Regions from separate parts of the Homo sapiens genome. Here all the other regions are linked to region 1. Evidence: promoter capture Hi-C in 16 types of primary human blood cells and fetal thymus (Javierre and others, 2016). All regions are on one chromosome and are shown on one strand. Each heading gives the region's core, a stretch centred on a gene start or on the middle of the fragment in contact. The rest is flanking DNA. Distances are from core to core; before and after follow the strand shown.

Region 1 (4,759 bases), core at 1,194-3,693:
AATTTACTTTTTTATTATTATTATTATTTTGAGGCAGACTCTCACTTTGTCACACAGGCTAGAGTGCACTGATGCAATCATGGCTTACTGCAGCCTCGATCACTGAAGCAGTGGGCTGGGAAAGGCAGACCCACCCTTAATCTGGGTAGGCACAATCTAATCACCTGCCAGCATGGCTAGAATATAAGCAGGCAGAAAAACGTGAGAGACTGGCCTAGCCTTCCAGCCTACATCTTTCTCCCATGCTGGATGCTTCCTGCCCTCAAATACCAAACTCCAAGTTCTTCAGTTTCGGAACTCAGACTGGCTCTCCTTGCTCCTCAGCCTGCAGACAGCCTATTGCGGGACCTTGTGATCATGTGAATTAATACTTAATAAACTCCCTTTATATATATATTCCATTGGTTCTATCCCTCTAGAGAACCCGGACTAATACAGACCGGGTCTCCAAGCTGGTCTCGAACTCCTGGGCTCACTCCATCCTGCCACCTCAGTGTCCCAAGTAGCTGAGACCACAGGCGCACACCATCACACCCAGCTTTTTTCTTTTTTTAATTTTTTTTGTAGAGACGGGGGTTTCACTATGTTGCCCGTGCTGGTCTTGAACTCCTGGACTCAAGAGATCCTCCCACCTCAGCCTCCCAAAGTGCTGGGATTACAGGCTGGAGCCACCACACCCAGCCCAATTTACTATTTTTCAAGGTTGAGTCTGAAAAGAAACACAGATAGCCACTCTCGTTCTAAAAGAAAAAGAAAGGGGTTTAACAGAATTTTATGTTAGGGAAGTATTTGAATATGAGGGTATTGTGAAAGAGGAAAAGTTTAATCACTAGTTAGAAGAAAAAGAAAATAAATGCAAAGAATTTAAAGTTCTATTTTAAGCAGAACTCCAAAAAGGTTATTAAGGAAAAAAAAAGTAAAAGTTGAAGAGTTCAACATGTACTTTTATTCCAGTATCCAAATCTCCAGAATGTAGCTGAAAATGTTACATTGGACATCTTCTTTCCGTAAAGAATATTTTATTTTAAAGTCACTTATTTCTATCTTATTTTTTAAATGTTTAATCTCGGTGTTGCGTTATATTTCTAATCAGAAGAAAAATGACCCTTTTCCTTTTAAGTACTTGATTGTGTGTCCTTTGTAATGATTGAAGGTAAAGGACTTTTCAATGTCTCAGTTGTAAAGTAGCAATTTTCTTTCAACTTCCCTTAGTTTCCTAGATAACACTCACCTCAACTCCCAAATCACTCAGCAAAACAACAAAATCCAAGAATGTAAAGTAGTGAAAGAGAAACCTTTCATAATATTTAAATGCATCTTTCCTTTGACATGGTATCATGCCCCTAAACACATAAAATGGTATTTCTGATAATAAATTAATAGCAAAATCCACTTAGGAATAACATGGATGCCTAACCCTTAATTTTGTATAAAACGTAATTTTTATCAACAGAGTCAACCAAAAAGTGGCTTTGACAAGAGTAATCACATTGAAATACTAGATACTGAAGATAATGGAAAACTGTAAGTTTCTCTCAATTTTTTGCTCAAGAAACCACATCTCTTACAGAAGGAAATGATCATAATCCGCTTGTAATTAAACTTGTGCACTGAAGAATAAGGACCTTCCTCCCAATTCGTACCAGCTTAACGGGTGTCACGATAAGAGAATCTCATTACATTCGAGAAAAAGAGCACACAGGACCAGAAACCAGAGGGCAACTGCAGTCCCAAAGACATCAGGTAGTTGGGCTTACACACAGAAAAACCGCAAGCAGCCATTCTTCCGCCTAACATCGAAATCTGAGATCAGCCCACAAACGTCTTAGCCAGAAAGGCTGGCGAAATGCACGCAGCACAGGTACTGGGTACACAAGTTCCTGGTCAAGAGAGAAGTGAGAAAGATCCAGGTTCTGTGAAAATAGCAAATACTGGCAGGGCATTATACACTGTGCACACTCTCCCCGGGCAGATAAGACCAACAAAGATGCATAAACCCACTCAACCGCGTGCACCCAACCCCTCTCCTGGTCCGAGGCACCGGAGGGCGCGGCGACGTCCAGGCTGCCGTGGAGGCCCGGTCCACGCCAAGCCAGACTCAGTCCCGGCCACCGGGCAGCAGCACCGGAGTCTCATTCCCGGTGGGAAGAGATGCAAGGACGCACCCCCAGCCGCTCACCCGCCAGGGCGTGCGGGACAGTGCACGCCGCGGAGGGCGCCGGGACCCTCAGCACCAACGCGCACATCGCTCACCTGGCAGAAGCACCTCTGTGCCGCTGTCTCCGGGGGCTGCTCCTCTCCGTGGCCCGAGCTGAGCAGCCACACGGCGCCCAGGAGGCCAAACAAGAATCCCCAGCCGCGGCCCATTGCAGCTCCGGCAGCTTGTCGCCCCACGCTTGGGAGGCCAGTCCGCACGCTCGGTCGCGGGCCGTGCGCCCTCAGATGAAGCCCGTGCGGGCCGGCCCCAGCGGCGCCCCACCTCCGGGCCGCCTCCCAGGCCCGCCTCGGCCCTCCTGCCTCTCAGCGATCGCCACCTCGCGACCCAGCCTGTGGACGTGCCGCGGCGCCCGCGCCGGCAGCCCGGGGCCTCGGACCGGTTCCTTCCCGCCGCGTGAGGCTGACGCACCGACCAGCTTCCCGGCTCGGCCCCGCCCGGTCCGCTGCGCCCGCGCCCGTCCCCGCCCCCGGCTCCCTGACGCCCCCGGCCTGGAGACGCAACCCGACGCGCACAACCCCAGACCCTGCGCGGGAGTCGGGGGTCCTTCCAGTTCCCAGAGCGAGAGCGAAAGCCGGAGGGGCCTGTGTTTTCCTGCGGGGTTGGGGGGCGGGGGGTGCCCGCCCCGCGCCGCCCCGCCCAGCCCCAGCCCGCTCACTCCCGGCCAATCCTTCCGTATCTCAATGCGAGACAATCAAATCGTACGAATTACGTGTCCACCGTGTTCCCGGCGGAGTCTTAAAGCTGAAAGGGATATTAGAGAGCATCTAGACCAGGGCAGCATATGTCATTTATATTTTTAGTAGCCACAGCAAAAGAGTAAAAATAACAGGTACATTTTATTTTTAAAATATTTTTATTTAACCCCGAATGTGCAAAATATTATTTCAAAATATAACCAACATTAAATTTATTCATAAGATATTTGACTTTTTTTGTCTTTGAAATCCAGTGTGTATTCGATGCGAACTAGACCCATTTCATAGTCAAATGTGGCTGGCTAGTGCCCACTGTATTAGACAGCGAGGGTGGAAGCCACCCGCTCATATCATAGGAAGAAACAGGCCTAGAGAAGTGAGGTAAGGTGAGCAAGGATTGGAGGTCCTCTGATACCCAGTCCTGGTCTTTTAACATTCAGAGTTGGGACTAGTCTATCCGCTTTTTTTTTTTCCAGACAGGGTCTCCCTGGGTCACCCAGGCTGGCCTGCAATGATGCGATCGCAGCTCACTGCAACCTCGAACTCCTGGGCTCAAGCGATCCTCCCACCTAAGCCTCCTGAGTAGCATGAACTACAGGCGTGCGCCACCACGCCTGGCTAATTTTATTTTTAGTAGAAACGAGGTTTCACCATGTTGCCCAGGCTGGTCTCAAACTCCTCAAGAGCGATTCTCCCGCCTCAGCCTCCCAAAGTGCTGGGATTACTTTTTTTTTTTTTTTCGAGGCGGAGTCTCGCTCTGTCGCCCAGGCTGGAGTGCAGTGGCGTCATCTTGGCTTACTGCAATCTCTGCCTCCCAGGTTCAAGAGATTCTCCTGCCTGAGCTTCCCCAGTAGCTGGGATTACAGGCGTAAGCCACCACACACTCGGCTAATTTTTGTATTTTCAGTAGAGAAGGGGTTTTGCCATGTTGGCCAGGCTGGTCTCTAGCTCTGAGCTCAGGTGACCCACCCATCTCAGCCTCCCAAAGTGCTAGAATTGCAGACATGAGCCACCGCACCTGGCCTTACTTTTTGTTTTTTGTTTGTTTGTTTGTTTGTTGTTTTAAGAAGACTTTTTTTTGAGACACTCTCACTTCCTCACCCAGGCTGGAGTGCAGTGGCGCAATCTCGGGTCACTGCAACCTCCGCTTCCCGGGTTTAAGTGATTCTTACGCCTCAGCTACCCGAGTAGCTGGGATTACAGGCCTGCGCCACCATACCCAGCTAACTTTTGTATTTTTAGTAGACATGTGGTTTCACCATGTTGGCCAGGCTGGTCTCGAACTCCTGACCTTAAGTGATCTGCCTGCCTCTGCCTCCCAAAGTGCTGGGATTACAGGTGTGAGCCACTTCACCAAGCCTAAGAAGGTAGTTTCTAGGTGAAACTGGCAGCTTTCCGACATCTTGCATGCACATTAAAAGTTGAAATAGTTCAAATGACTTAAACTCATGTATTTTACTGCAAACCCTAGAGCTCTGCCTATCACTGCCAAGTAGACATGTAGTAAAAGTCAACAACCCATCTGAGATCCTGATGGACCTGAGAAGCTCTAATTCTAGTATCTACAACATGTCACATGTACATATTAATACAATCTCCCTCCTAACCTGAAAGCTTTTTTTTTTTTTTTTCTTTTTCTTTTTTTTTTTTTTTTTGAGATAGATTCTCACTCTGTCGCCAGGCTGGAGTGCAGTGGCGCAATCTTGGCTCACTGCAAATCCAGCTCCTGGGTTCAAGTGATTCTCCTGCCTCAGCCTCCTGAGCAGCTGGGACTACAGGCGCGTGCCACTACGCCCAGCTAAGTTGTTTGCATTTTTAGTAGAGACAGGGTTTCACCATGTTAGCC
Region 2 (4,759 bases), core at 728-3,227, 430 kb after region 1:
GTGCCCAAATTCCCTCCTCTTGTGAAGACACCAGTCAGACTGGATTAGGGAAGTTTAGGACCTACCCTAAATGTCTCAATTTAACTTTATCACCTCTTTTATAGGTCTTATCTTCAAATACTGTCACAATCTGAGGTATCAGGGCAAGGACTCCAACATAAGACTCTTAGCCTTTTTGCAAATTTTAATTCATGGAGGTAGCTTTTATATATTCTCAATTCTTTGCATCTCAATTTGGAGAAGAGACTTTAAATCACAGGCCATTTTATATCAACTCTTCCAAGTTTAATATTTTGGTGGATCTAGGCAATGCAGAATTTTATATGCTTAGGGAAAAATTTCTCTCTAGGTACTTAGCTAAGAAAAAAAATATTTGATATAACCTGCATAGATATGGAAGAAAAACCTTGCTAAATAAAATGGAGTATACAACCGTAAAACAGTTGTCTGAATTTTCAGTGTTGATTTTAGCTTAGTAGATACAATCAATTCCACACTGATTATAGCCATTCTATCAGATTATTAAAATCAAAAGAATATGTATTAACATAGTTGAAACTTTTAATATCAGCACAGTGTCATTCAAACTTTTCTATTTTCTCTTTCTACTCTACATATTTTCCATGATTTAAACCTGTGGTTTCTAAACCTGGCCTATAGTCAGAATCACCTGAGGAATTAAATTAAAAGATGGATTTTTTTTTTTTTTTTTGAGATGGAATCTCGCCCTGTCACCCAGGCTGGAGGGCCATGGTGTGATCTTGGCTCATTGCAACCTCCGCCTCCTGGGTTCATATGATTCTCCTGCCTCAGTCTCCCGAGTAGCTGGGATTACAGGTACCCACTACCATGCCCGGCTAATTTTTTGTATCTTTAGTAGAGACAGGGTTTCACCATGTTGACCAGGCTGGTCTCGAACTCCTGACCTCGTGATCTGCCTGCCTTGGCCTCCCAAAGTGCTGGGATTACAGGCGTGAGCCACCGCGCCCAGCAAAGATGGATTTTTTAAGATTCCTTCCCAAACTTAATAAACCAGTCTCTGAAGATAGGGTCCAGAAATATGTACTTTAAGTTCTTCAAGTTATATATCACAAAACACAGTCCTTGCATAAGTGATCACTGGTTCCCAACTAGTTAAAAACAGTTAATTCTCTAAATCTGATCATTTACCCAAGGTAAAAATATTTTCAGTATTTTTATGTATACATATTTACAAATTATGTATATATATTATTGTTCTAAAATGTTTGATTCATTATGATACACAAAAATAGAAAAATTGAAAGGGTGAAATAGAAGTGAATATGAATTCAAACATTTTCATTATAATACATCTAAATGTAGTGTCTGCATACCCTATTTTACTCTTTTTGAGACAGGGTCTCACTCCCATCTCCCAGGCTAGAGTGCAGTGCAGTGGAGCAATCACGGGTCACTGCAGCCTCGACTTCCCGGGCTCAGGTAATCCTCCCACTTCAGCTCCCAAGTAGCTGGGACTACAGGCATGCGCCACCATCCCCAGCTAATTTTTTGTATTTTTAGTAGAGATGGGGTTTCATCATGTTATCCAGGATGCTCTTGAACTCCTGGGCTCAAGCAATCCATCCACCTTGGCCTCCCAAAGTGCTGGGATTATAGGCATGAGCCACCCACCCGGCTGATGTAACATCTTTCTTTAAGACTCATATCAAGCATCAATTTCTCTGGAAAGCTTTTTACTTGACGTAGAAGTGGTCATTCCCATCTTTTTTTTTACCTAGTAAATATTAACTATTTGTTGAATTAATGAAATTAAAGTTTTGAAAAAATGTATTGAAAGAAAACAATTCACGTTACAAAAGAGAAGCACAGCGTTTAGAAGATGGCAAACAAATGTCAGACTGTCAAAATAGTTACTAGTCAGGAGGATTAACTAGCTATAAATAAAACAATCACGTGAGAATTTAAGCTCTAACGGGTTGAAATCAAAAGAGAAACTAAAATTTTTTAAAAAAGAACAGAGAAAAAGGAGAAAAAGATTTGTGTAGTCAAAATTCATAATGCTAACAAGCACAGATGTAAACGCTTGAACATATGTTTTTTTAAAAAAGCAGAAGAAACACTTAAGAAACTAAAGTTACCAGACAATTGAGAAATTTATTTAGAAAATCATCAAACAGGAGGAATACATAGCAATAAAGTTGAGTGAGGAAATTTTACACAGGTTACAAAATAATCCAGGATATTAAGTATTATTGGCAACCTAAGCTTCATTATCTGCTCAAATCGTGTAAACAGTGAAGTTGCAGACTGTACAACAGTAGAAAAAGAACTGGGTTAAGGACTCAGGAGGCCTAGCCTAAAATTCCAGTTCACCCCTTAACCTCTCTGAGCCTCAGCTTATCATCTATAACATGAAGATATTGTCTCACTGCAGGGTTACAATGGGGATTAATAAAATAATGTATGTGAAAGTACTTTGTAAACTACAAAATCTCATGCCAAATTATGGCATTATTTTAATTTGTGGAATATTGTTTGAAGTTTCTAAATCCACATGCAGTAGTTACACACAGCTACATCAAGACTAACCGTGAAGAATCCTCAGCCATTTGGTAGAACTAAACACCATTTTCCCCACCAAGTCTTCTAAAATAAAAACCTTATGCCATGACAGCTGGAGAAGGAAGCCCAGAGAATCAAAAAACAAATACATACTAAGACCTGAAGGTAAGATCGCTACAGACACACAATGACTGGCAAGCTAACTCAATGCTCTGATTTACTTCCTGGTGTTATTAGTAAAAGGTAGGTCTTTTTATGTGAAAATAGATCCTTAAGAGTCTGTTTTTACATTGAGTTGTATAGTTGTATGAACCAAGACAGAATAAGAAAGGTGGAATGACATGGTTTGGCCATGTCCCCACCCAAAATCTCATCTTGAACTGTAATTCAAATTGTAATCTTCACGTGTTGGGGGAGGAACCTCATGGGAGGTGAACAGAACACGCGGGTGGTTGCCCCATGCTATTCTGACAGTGAGTTCTCACGAGATCTAATGGTTTTATAAGGGGCTTTCCCCTCTTCGCTCTATATTTCTCTCTCCTCCTACCATGTGAAGAAGGACGAGTTTGCTTCCCTTTCCACCATGATTGTAAGTTTCCTGAGGCCTCCCCAGCCACGTGGAACTGTGAGTCAATTAAACCCCTTTCCTTTATAAATGACCAAGTCTTGGATATTTCTTCATAGCAGCATAAGAATGGACTAATATATGGAGACTAAGGATCTGTCTTAGTCCATCTAGGCTGCTGTAATAAAATACCATAAAGTTGGTAGCTTTTAACAATGGAAACTTATGTCTCACATCTCTGGAGACTGCCAAGTCTAAGATCAAGGCACCAGCAGATTTGGTGTCTGGTGAGGGTCCACTTTCTGGTTCATTGTGCCTTCTCACTGTGCCCTCACATGGTGGAAGTGGGGAAGGAGCAGGGTGTTAATGCGATTCACAGGACTCTGCCGTATGACCTTATCACTTCCCAAAGGCCCCACTTCCCCAATACCATCACCTAGAGGTTTAGTATTTCAACATACAAATTTTGGGGAGATATTAACCTTCAGTCCACTGTAGGAGCATAAGAAATTAAGTGCAACAGCTGGTTCAGTTAGGCCATATGTATTATGTCAGCAAAAAAGGGCCAGAAGCCAACAGTTCTGATACAAAAGTCTATCACTTCTACCTACAGCCCATAACTGCATAATGTCAGGCCTCTGAGCCCAAGCTGAGCCATCATATCCCCTGTGACCTGCAGGTATACATCCAGATGGCTTGAAGCAACTGAAGAACCACAAAAGATAACATTCCACCATTGTGATATGTTCCTGCCCCACCCTAACTGATCAACTGACCTTATGACAATACACCCTCCCTGCCCTTGTGATAATGCACTTTGTGATATTCCCCTGCTCTTAACAAGGTACTTTATAATATTCTCCCTGCCCTTGAGAATGTACTTTGTGAGATCCACCCCTGGCCCACCTATCCCAAACCTATAAGAACTAATGATAATCCCACCACAATTTGCTGACTCCTTTTTCAGACTCAGCCAACCTGCACCCAGGTGAAATAAACAGCCTTGTTGCTCACACAAAGCCTGTTGGTGGACTCTCTTCAAATGGACGTGCATGACATTTGGTGCCGAAGACCCGGGACAGGGGGACTCCTTTGGGAGACCAGCCCCCTGTCCTTGCCCTCACTCCGTGAGGAGATCCACCTATGACCTCAGGTCCTCAGACCAACCAGCCCAAGGAACATCTCACCAATTTTAAATCGGGTAAGCAGTCTTTTCACTCTCTTCTCCAACCTCTCTCGCTATCCCTCCACCCTTCAATCTCTCCCTTCCTTAATTTTGGTTCCTTTCCCTTTCTGGTAGAGACAGAGGAGACGCGTTTTATCCGTGATCTCAAAACTCTGGTGCCGGTTACGGACTGAGGAAGACAGTCTTCCCTTGGTGTTTAATCACTGCGGGGATGCCTGCCTGATTATTCACCCACATTTCAGAGGTGTCTGATCACCGTGGGGATGCCTGCCTTGAACCTTCACGTTGGTGGCAAGTACCACCTTCCCTGGGAGGCAAGCACCACCCTCCCGCCCATGTCTCTACCCTCTCTTTTCTCTGGGCTTGCCTCTTTCACTATGGGCAATCTTTCAACCTCCATTCCTCCTTCTTCTCCCTTAGCCTGTGCAAGAACTTAAAACCTCTTCAATTCTTGCCTGACCTAA
Region 3 (4,759 bases), core at 661-3,160, 420 kb before region 1:
AATGCTCTACAGAGAAGAAAGTAGAACAGTAAGGAAATGATTATGGGAAAAATGCATCTTCTCCAGGAGATGCTCTCTGATTGCCTCGAATGGGTCCAGTCTCTTATCCATATCCCTTCTTACTAATGTTGAGTTTGCACGCTTCCTGTTCCATTAGAGTCCATTTATCCTAAAATGTATTTAGAATTGTAGGCATAGAGAATGTAATGGAAAAAAGAAAAAAGTGGCCAGCCTTAGGCAGAGTGGAAAGCAATGGTTGTGCTGATCTAGAGATCAGTGTTGGCTGAATGGGAGGAAAAGCTGTTGTTTGAGGCACTTTGCAGGGCTCCAAGGAGGCTACAGAGACCTCAGGGAAGATCAAGACAAGAGGAGTTGGTTGGACCTAGGTAAGGCAGCCTTATATTTTTGTGCATGTTTTTGCCTTCTAGATTGAACAAGAAAAAAAAAAAGGATGTCAACCATGAAAAAGTAACAATTTGTGCTAAAAATAAGTATAGCAATTTACATGAGTTGAACAGTATTTTTTTCCAAGTCATCTCAGGTCTTTTCATTGTCATATTTCCAATCTCTTCACATTGATTAAAAGCTTCCATTCTATTGGTGTCTCCATACATATGACATTTCACAGGTGTGACTTATTTCTGAGAGAACTAATAGGAGAAGATAGGAAGCAGGGAGAAGAAAGAAAGGAGAACTGAAGAAAGTAAGTGCAAGGACACTAGCTAGAAAGAGATTCTGTATTTATGAAAGCATGCTGACCCTGTTTCTAAAAGATTCAGCAGATCTTCATGGCCTGGCAGGGACCTAGAAACTTGAGCCCAGCAGGTAGAATAGCCTTCAGGGACTTAATCAGACTGGGTCTCCGACAAGTACTCAGCTTCCTTCCCACCTCCCAGGTCTGGCCACACCCCACCTTCCCAGCTCCCCACTTGCACCCATCAGCTGCTGTGGCCTTAGCTACTTGTAAATGTACCAAAAATGGGTGTTCCAAGCTAAGCTGTCATGTTCTTACAGTAACTTAGGTGAAGTAAGTGAATCCATTGCTGCCATTAACCTTTCCACATCATAATGGAATGTTTTTCTTCAAAACAGTATCGCGCTTACTATGGAGCATTTAAGGATGTCAAGGAGAAAAACAGGACCTCTGAAGAAGCAGAAGACCTCCGAGCCTTGCGATTTCTATCTGTGATTTCAATTGTGGACCCTTGGATTTTTATCATTTTCAGATCTCCAGTATTTCGGATATTTTTTCACAAGATTTTCATTAGACCTCTTAGGTACAGGAGCCGGTGCAGCAATTCCACTAACATGGAATCCAGTCTGTGACAGTGTTTTTCACTCTGTGGTAAGCTGAGGAATATGTCACATTTTCAGTCAAAGAACCATGATTAAAAAAAAAAAGACAACTTACAATTTAAATCCTTAAAAGTTACCTCCCATAACAAAAGCATGTATATGTATTTTCAAAAGTATTTGATATCTTAACAATGTGTTACCATTCTATAGTCATGAACCCCTTCAGTGCATTTTCATTTTTTTATTAACAGCAACTAAAATTTTATATATTGTAACCAGTGTTAAAAGTCTTAAAAAACAATGGTATTAATTGTCCCTACATTTGTGCTTGGTGGCCCTATTTTTTTTTTTTAGAGAGGCCTTGAGACATACAGGTCTTTTAAAATACAGTAGAAACACCACTGTTTACGATTATACGATGGACATTCATAAAAAGCATAATTTCTTACCCTATTCATTTTTTGGTGAAACCTGATTCATTGATTTTATATCATTGCCGATGTTTAGTTCATTTCTTTGCCAATTGATCTAAGCATAGCCTGAATTATGATGTTCCTCAGAGAAGTGAGGTGGGAAATATGACCAGGTCAGGCAGTTGGAGGGGCTTCCCCAGCCACCATCGGGGAGTACTTGCTGCCTCAGGTGGAGACCTGAAGCTGTAACTAGATGCAGAGCAAGATATGACTATAGCCCACAACCCAAAGAAGCAAAAATTCGTTTTTATCTTTTGAAATCCAGTTTCTTTTGTATTGAGTCAAGGGTGTCAGTAGGAATCAAAAGTTGGGGGTGGGTTGCAAAATGTTCTTTCAGTTTTTAGAACCTCCATTTTATAAAAGAATTATCCTATCAATGGATTCTTTAGTGGAAGGATTTATGCTTCTTTGAAAACCAGTGTGTGACTCACTGTAGAGCCATGTTTACTGTTTGACTGTGTGGCACAGGGGGGCATTTGGCACAGCAAAAAGCCCACCCAGGACTTAGCCTCAGTTGACGATAGTAACAATGGCCTTAACATCTACCTTAACAGCTACCTATTACAGCCGTATTCTGCTGTCCGTGGAGACGGTAAGATCTTAGGTTCCAAGATTTTACTTCAAATTACACCTTCAAAACTGGAGCAGCATATAGCCGAAAAGGAGCACAACTGAGCACTTTAATAGTAATTTAAAAGTTTTCAAGGGTCAGCAATATGATGACTGAAAGGGAAAAGTGGAGGAAACGCAGCTGCAACTGAAGCGGAGACTCTAAACCCAGCTTGCAGGTAAGAGCTTTCACCTTTGGTAAAAGAACAGCTGGGGAGGTTCAAGGGGTTTCAGCATCTCTGGAGTTCCTTTGTATCTGACAATCTCAGGACTCCAAGGTGCAAAGCCTGCTGCATTTGCGTGATCTCAAGACCTCCAGCCAGAAGTCCCTTCCAAATATAAGAGTACTCATGTTTATTTATTTCCAACTGAGCAGCAACCTCCTTTGTTTCACTTATGTTTTTTCCAGTATCTGAGATAATATAAAGCTGGGTAATTTTTTATGTAATTTTTTGGTATAGCAAAACTGTGAAAAAGCCAAATTAGGCATACAAGGAGTATGATTTAACAGTATGACATGATGAAAAAAATACAGTTGTTTTTGAAATTTAACTTTTGTTTGTACCTTCAATGTGTAAGTACATGCATGTTTTATTGTCAGAGGAAGAACATGTTTTTTGTATTCTTTTTTTGGAGAGGTGTGTTAGGATAATTGTCCAGTTAATTTGAAAAGGCCCCAGATGAATCAATAAATATAATTTTATAGTATTTTGCAGAGGAAATTACTTTTCTTTAAATGAAAGAAAAGGGCTTGGCTTTCTTTTTAGTAGACAGTTGCCAGCAATATTTCATTGTCTGGCAGTTTCCTAGTGTGGATTTTTATATACTGTCCGATTAACACTTACATTACTTTAAACAAGCTTTCATTACTTTACTTACATTTCATTACTTTACATTACTTTAAACAAGCTTAGGTAAGTCCTTAGACTCACCTAAGGACCTAGTGCTCCTTTTTGTTTCATACAAAATGTAGATATACCATCTGGATGAAGTCTGTGTTGAGTTAAAACCAACTCTTCGGTAATCTGTATAGATTTATTCATTAATTCATTAAATAATTTACAGAGACCTTGTGCCAAGCAGTTGATTAGGGGCTGAGGAAAGGAATAAAAATAAGACTCAATCATGGTTCATGAGTTGCTCGTTGTCCACTGGGGTAGAGAGGAATGTCAACAGTTAGGATACAGCATAGAAATTCTCCATAGTATTGCGAGTACGCATTTACTATTAGAAGAGGAGGCCCAAACTAGGGACCACGTGTAGGGTTGTCAGGAGAACTTCACAGGAAGAAGATGCATTGAAAGTCAAGTATTGAAAACGAGTAGGAATTTTGACTCTGAAAACTGAAAAGAACACAGAGAAAGTTTACATAAGAGAAAATACATATGGTTAATAAATGTAGAAAAATATTCAGCCTAATCAAGGAAATGCAAAAATAAAACCAAATTGTATATCAACAACAAGCAACAACAACAACAAAAAACCTATGACTCTCAATAACAGAGGTTATTCAGAGAAGAACATTCATGTTCCCCTGGCGAGTTCGTAAATGTGTATACCCTTTCTTGATAGCAACCCAACAGTGTATCAAGAACCTAAAGCGTTCTTTGCTGTTGTTCCAGTAATTCCACTCTAGCATTCTCTTGCAGAGAATAATCAGTAGTCCTGGACAAGCAGCAGTAGCAACACCTGAAACTTACTACAAATGCAAATTCTCCAGCTCCACGTCAGACCTGTTGAATCAGAATCTCTTGGGTGGGGCCAGCAATCTGGGCTTTAACATGCCCTCCAGGTGATTCTCATGCATGCTAATATTTGAGAACCACTGCTCTACACAAAACAAAAAAAGAAAAGAAAAGAAAAATACCAAAAAAAGACAAGTAAATATGTGATAGACTATGTTTCTCTGACCTCTGATTCTCAGATCCTTTCAGTTGCAGATAATCCCTCACACCTGAACTTCCACAGTGTTTTTATCTGTAATGTTCTCAGCAAAGTTACAGCTTTGTAAACTAGTTCAACCATTGTGGAAGTCAGTGTGGCAATTCCTCAGGGATCTAGAACTAGAAATACCATTTCACCCAGCCATCCCATTACCGGGTATATACCCAAAGGATTATAAATCATGCTGCTATAAAAACACATGCACACGTATGTTTATAGTGGCACTATTCACAAGAGCAAATACTTGGAACCAACCTAAATGTCCAACAATGATAGACTGGATTAAGAAAATGTGGCACATATACACCATGGAATACTATGCAGCCATAAAGAATGATGAGTTCATGTCCTTTGTAGGGACATGGATGAAACTGGAAACCATCATTCTCAGCAAACTATCGCAAAGACAAAAATCCAAACACCACATGTTCTCACTC
Region 4 (4,759 bases), core at 285-2,784, 400 kb before region 1:
TATCACTGTAGTAGGCAGCTTCTAAAAGAGCTACCAATGATCCCGGTCTTCAGGTCTCCAGGTATTCATGCCCTTGGGTAATTCTTTCCCTGCAAGCATGATCTGGACCTACAGACTTGCTTCTAAGGTGTGGAATACAGCAGAAAAACATCTGGAAAGTTACACCTTTCCAAATAAGCCTTGGTTGCTTGCTCGCTCCGATGGAAACCAGCTGCTGTGCTGTGAGCTGTATTGTGGAGAGGCTCATATGGCAGAAAATGGAGGGAGGCCACTGGCCAACAGCCAGCAAGGAATAGAAGCTCTTAGTCCCACAACCCAGGAGGAACCAAATCCTCCAACAACCACATGAATGTTCTTGGAAGTGGATCCTTCCTTCCAAGTACAGCTTTGAGCCGACTGCTACCCCAGCCAATGTCTTGACTGCAGCCTTATGAGAGACCTGAGCTAGGGGACCCAGCTAAGCTGCACCCAGATTCCTCACCCACAGAAATCGTGAGGTGAGAAAATGTTGTTTCATGCTGCTACATTTTGGGGTGATTTTTTTCAGCAGTCATAGATAACTAATATAATTCATTGAATTATAATTAAATTAATGGGCATCCCATTATATATGAATCCATAGCATATTTTGTTGACAAATATGATACAAGAAATATTTATAAGCTCTGATTATATACTAGGCTACAAGAAAAATCTCAATAAATATAAGAAAGCAGAAATTAACAGTTTATTTTCTTCGATTAGGAAATACATTTTTATTTAAGTTAAAACCAAAAAGTCTCTCTGATTACATGGAAATTTTTCTTCTTTTTGTATGCATTATACATACTAAATTGTGTGTACAACATGCATATGCAGTTAAATAGTAATTATAAAGTAAATATCCATGTAGACATTGTGCAGGTCAAGAAACGGAATACTGCCAGTACCAGAAGCCTCCTGTGTGCCTTCCCTGATCACAGTCCCTCCCCCTCACCGAGATAAACCCTGTTCCGACTTTTAAGAAATCATGCTTTTGCTTTTCTTTATCTTACCCCATGTGTGCATCATAATATATGTATTCAGTGTCTTTTTCTCAAGCTTAGTAATGTGTCTTAGCTTGGATTCCTCACATGCAGTCTAGGACAAAGAGTCAGGTGCATGTGACCTGTGGAGCTCCTGCTTTCGGGAGAAAAGCGGTGAAAGCAGCAGGACAGGGCAGGGACGGAATCAAGGCAAGGATGAGGTCTCAGCTCTGCCTGATCTCAAGGGGGGGCTCTGGAGCTTGAATAGCACCACACTGTTGGTCCCACCAAGACACTTGTGAAAGCCTGTTACTAAGTTTTTGGCCCACGTGTTCCCGGTGGTACCCTTTGAGCCAAGGGCAATTTTCCAGAAAAGGGGCCAGCTCTGAGCCATTAGAAACCATAACCCACAGGGGCTGGGGGCAATGGCTTGGAAAAGGAGATCTGGATGATATTCACCATATAGTATGTTTGTGAGATTCATACTTTTTGTACGTGTAGCTGAGTTCCTATATTTTCATGGCCAAATAGTATTCCATGGTATGAATATATCGCATGCTGTCAATGGACATTTGGGGTATTTCTAGATTTGCCTACTAGAAATAATGCTGTTTTATGATTCAAGGGGCAAAAAAAGAAAAGAAAAATAAACAATGCTGTTTTAACTGTTCTTATTATGTCTTGTGTTGGACATGTGTACGAGTATCTCTAAGGCATACATCTAGGAGTGGGATTGCAGGGTTATAGGATATGTGCACCTTTTATTATATCATAAAAATTGTTTTCCAATTTACACTAACACCAGCATTGTTTTCATTGCTCTACATCTTTGCTAACACTTGTATTGTTAGATTTTTAGTTTTAGCCATTTTGGTAAGTTTGTAATGGTATTTCATTGAGGTTTTAATGTATTTTTCATATTAATAATGATGATATTGCACACCTTCTCATACATTTATTGGCTGTTTGGAAATTCTAGTTTATAAAGCTTCTGTTCAAGTCTTTTGCCTTTTTAAAAAATATAATGTTTGTTTTTCATATTGATTTATAGATGTCCTAACTACTGTTACTTTGTCAGTTTTATGTGTTGGAAAAATCTTTTCCCATTCTTTAATCTGTCTTTTCACTCTCTTTTTGATGACTTTTAATTAATAGAAATTTTTATTTTATTAGAATCTAATTTCTTAAACTTTTCTTTTATGGCTAAGCTTTTCATGTTTTATTTGAGAAATGTTTTCTAAACCTAAAATCATGAAATATTTTTCTATACTACTTTATAAAAGCTTTATAGTTTTGCCTTTCACTCTTGAATTTGAACCCACCTATGATTTATTTGGTGTATGGTGTGATATAAATATCCAGTTTTGTACTTTCACCATATAAATAACCACTTGTCCAAGTATCATTTATCAAAAAGTTTATCTTTTCCCCATTGATCTTAAATATCATATCTGTCACATATGAAGTTTCCATATTTGTATGTTTGTTTCTATTCCATTGGCCTGTTGTCTTAGGTACATTAATGCTTCCACCTAGCTCTCTTTGAAGGGGGCCCTTTTAATCTTAGTGCTTTAGTTCCACCAAAACCTGCTGGGATTTTCACTGGAATTGCACTGAATCTATTGATTAATTTTGTATACTTTTCAATTTATTTATGTCCTTTTCAATGTCTCTTTATAAAAGTTTCAAAATTTTACTGAAGTATAACATGCATACAGAGAAATATACGAATTATAAGTAGACAGTGAAATGAATTTTCACAAAGCAATACACCTAAGTTACTAATATCCAGATTAAAAAAAAAAAAAACAAAAAACACAGAATCCCAAACCCCTCCAAAATCCCTTTTTTAGCTACTGACTTCACCCACAAGAGGAAACCACCTTGAGTTCTAATACATGAATTTTGTCCACTTTTGAACTTTATATAAATGGAATCAGTATGTACTTGTTTTCTTTCACTCAGCAGTATGCTTGTGAAATCCGTCCGTGTTGTTCAGAGTTATATTTTGTTTATTCTCTTTGCTGTAGTGTTCTACTGTACGAATTCCACCGTATGAATTTACCACAATATATTAATCTATCTATTGCAGATGGACATTTGAGTTATTTCTAATTGAACCTATTACAAATAGTAATAAGCAGCCGGGCGCACTGGCCCATGCCTGTAATCCCAGCATTTTGGGAGGCCAAGGTGGGTGGATCACCTGAGGTCAGGAGTTTGAGAACAGCCTGGCCAACATGGTGAAAACCCGTCTCTACTAAAAATACAAAAAAATAAAGTTAGCCAGGTGTGGTGGCAGGCACCTGTAATCCCAGCTACTCAGGAGGCTGAGGCAAGAGAATCGCTTGAACTCGGGAAGCGGAGGTTGCAGTGAGCTAAGATCACGCTACTGAACTCCAGCCTGGGCAACAAGAGCGAAACTCTGTCTCAAAGAAAAAAAAAAAAAGTAATAAGCATCCTTTCACACATCTTTTGGGAACATACATATGCATTTCTATTAAGGATATAACTGAATGTAATTGCTAGGTCATAAGTTTTGCCCTTAGTAAATACTGCCAAGGGGTCTTCCAAAGTGGATTGTGTCAGTTCATACTTCCACAGCAATGTATAAAGGCCGAGTTGATCCACATGCTCATCAATACTTCCTATTGTCTTTCTAGTTCGGTTTAGCCGTTCTGGGGGTATCGAGTGGTATCACATTGTGGCTTTAATGTGCATATCCCTGATCCACACCTTTTCCTATGTTTATTGTCCTTTGCATATCCCTGTCTGTGAAGGATCTGTCCAGGTCTTTTCTCCACTTTTCTATTCAGTTATCTGTCTTTTGCTTATTGAATTTCAAGAGTTTCATTATCTGAATCTATTAGGTTCTTGACTTTGTGACACTACATGGCAAAATTTTGCCTAGTGTGGAAATCCTAATGCATCCAAATCTATTTGGTTCCTGGAGTTCAAAATGAAAATGTAGATAATGAAGGATACCTGAAGTCACTGTAGGTCTATTCCTGCTGATTCTGACTGATGTTACCTTATCTTCTGGTGAGCTTGGGTATTATGAGAACATGTATTCTGGAGATTCTCTGATGCCTAAAATGATGGTGCCTTCCTCCAGAGGGGATGTGCACTCTCCAGGCCCCTAGGGTCAGTCCAGGACTTCTTTAAACCAGTTCGGGGCACAGGGTTTTTTGGACCATCCAGGTAAGGTGATTTGGAGTTACAAACTCACAGAGACTGCCAGCACGTGCTTGTCACTTCGCAGAGATCAGGTTTTTCTTTACTTTCCTTCCTCTGCAGTGTTCAACACAAAAGAATTTTTTTTTCCCTTAAGATCTCCTGGGGGAGTGTTGGAGGGTTAGAGCGTAAAAGTGGGTTTAGGTTTACTTCTAGATAATTCCTGACCTAAGGAAGCAGTCCTTTTGGGTCCTAACCTTATAGAGGAAGGTTTCCTATTAGACTCCCCACCTTTGCCAGAACATAAACTTCAATTTCTGAACTTGCAGACCCTGAAAGAATAAAAACAATAAAATCCACCTTTCCTTCATTGGCATATGTCCTCAGAGGCAAAAGCAACTTCTGTGTTCTGAGACAGGGTCTGGCTCTGTCTGCCAAGCTGGAATGCGGTGGCAGGATCTTGGCCTACTGTGACCTCCGCCTCCTGGGCTCAAGCTATCCTCCTACCTCAGCCTCCTGAGTAGCTAGGACTACAGGCGCGTGCCACCACACCCAGTTAATTTTTTGTAGATATGGGGTTT

What was found. The method cuts DNA at HindIII sites, captures the fragments that hold promoters and counts their contacts. A CHiCAGO score of 5 or more calls a contact.
Region 2: a contact is called between a fragment that was not itself captured here and the fragment with the promoter of ERO1A in region 1, in 1 of 17 cell types (M0 macrophages). The highest score is 5.3, in M0 macrophages.
Region 3: a contact is called between a fragment that was not itself captured here and the fragment with the promoter of ERO1A in region 1, in 2 of 17 cell types (neutrophils and megakaryocytes). The highest score is 7.3, in neutrophils.
Region 4: a contact is called between a fragment that was not itself captured here and the fragment with the promoter of ERO1A in region 1, in 3 of 17 cell types (neutrophils, megakaryocytes and monocytes). The highest score is 7.8, in neutrophils.

Annotation. Positions count from the first base shown.
Region 1 is chr14:52,693,115-52,697,873 of GRCh38, forward strand. ERO1A (endoplasmic reticulum oxidoreductase 1 alpha) reads right to left here and starts at 2,444. Exons shown (of 16, transcript NM_014584.3): 1 at 2,254-2,444. The coding sequence starts at 2,367. RefSeq lists enhancers at 1,969-2,470, 2,076-2,125 and a silencer at 2,376-2,915. The HindIII fragment of the contact is 13,242 bases long and covers 1-4,525 here.
Region 2 is chr14:53,125,008-53,129,766 of GRCh38, forward strand. All of the region lies in intron 1 of DDHD1 (DDHD domain containing 1), which reads right to left. Among named protein-coding and RNA genes, the nearest start is that of DDHD1, 26 kb to the right of the region's middle. The HindIII fragment of the contact is 536 bases long and covers 1,710-2,245 here.
Region 3 is chr14:52,273,639-52,278,397 of GRCh38, forward strand. PTGDR (prostaglandin D2 receptor) reads left to right here. Exons shown (of 2, transcript NM_000953.3): 2 at 1,093-3,086. The coding sequence ends at 1,326. Among named protein-coding and RNA genes, the nearest start is that of PTGDR, 8.3 kb to the left of the region's middle. The HindIII fragment of the contact is 2,652 bases long and covers 585-3,236 here.
Region 4 is chr14:52,290,419-52,295,177 of GRCh38, forward strand. No RefSeq gene overlaps it. Among named protein-coding and RNA genes, the nearest start is that of PTGER2, 22 kb to the right of the region's middle. The HindIII fragment of the contact is 912 bases long and covers 1,079-1,990 here.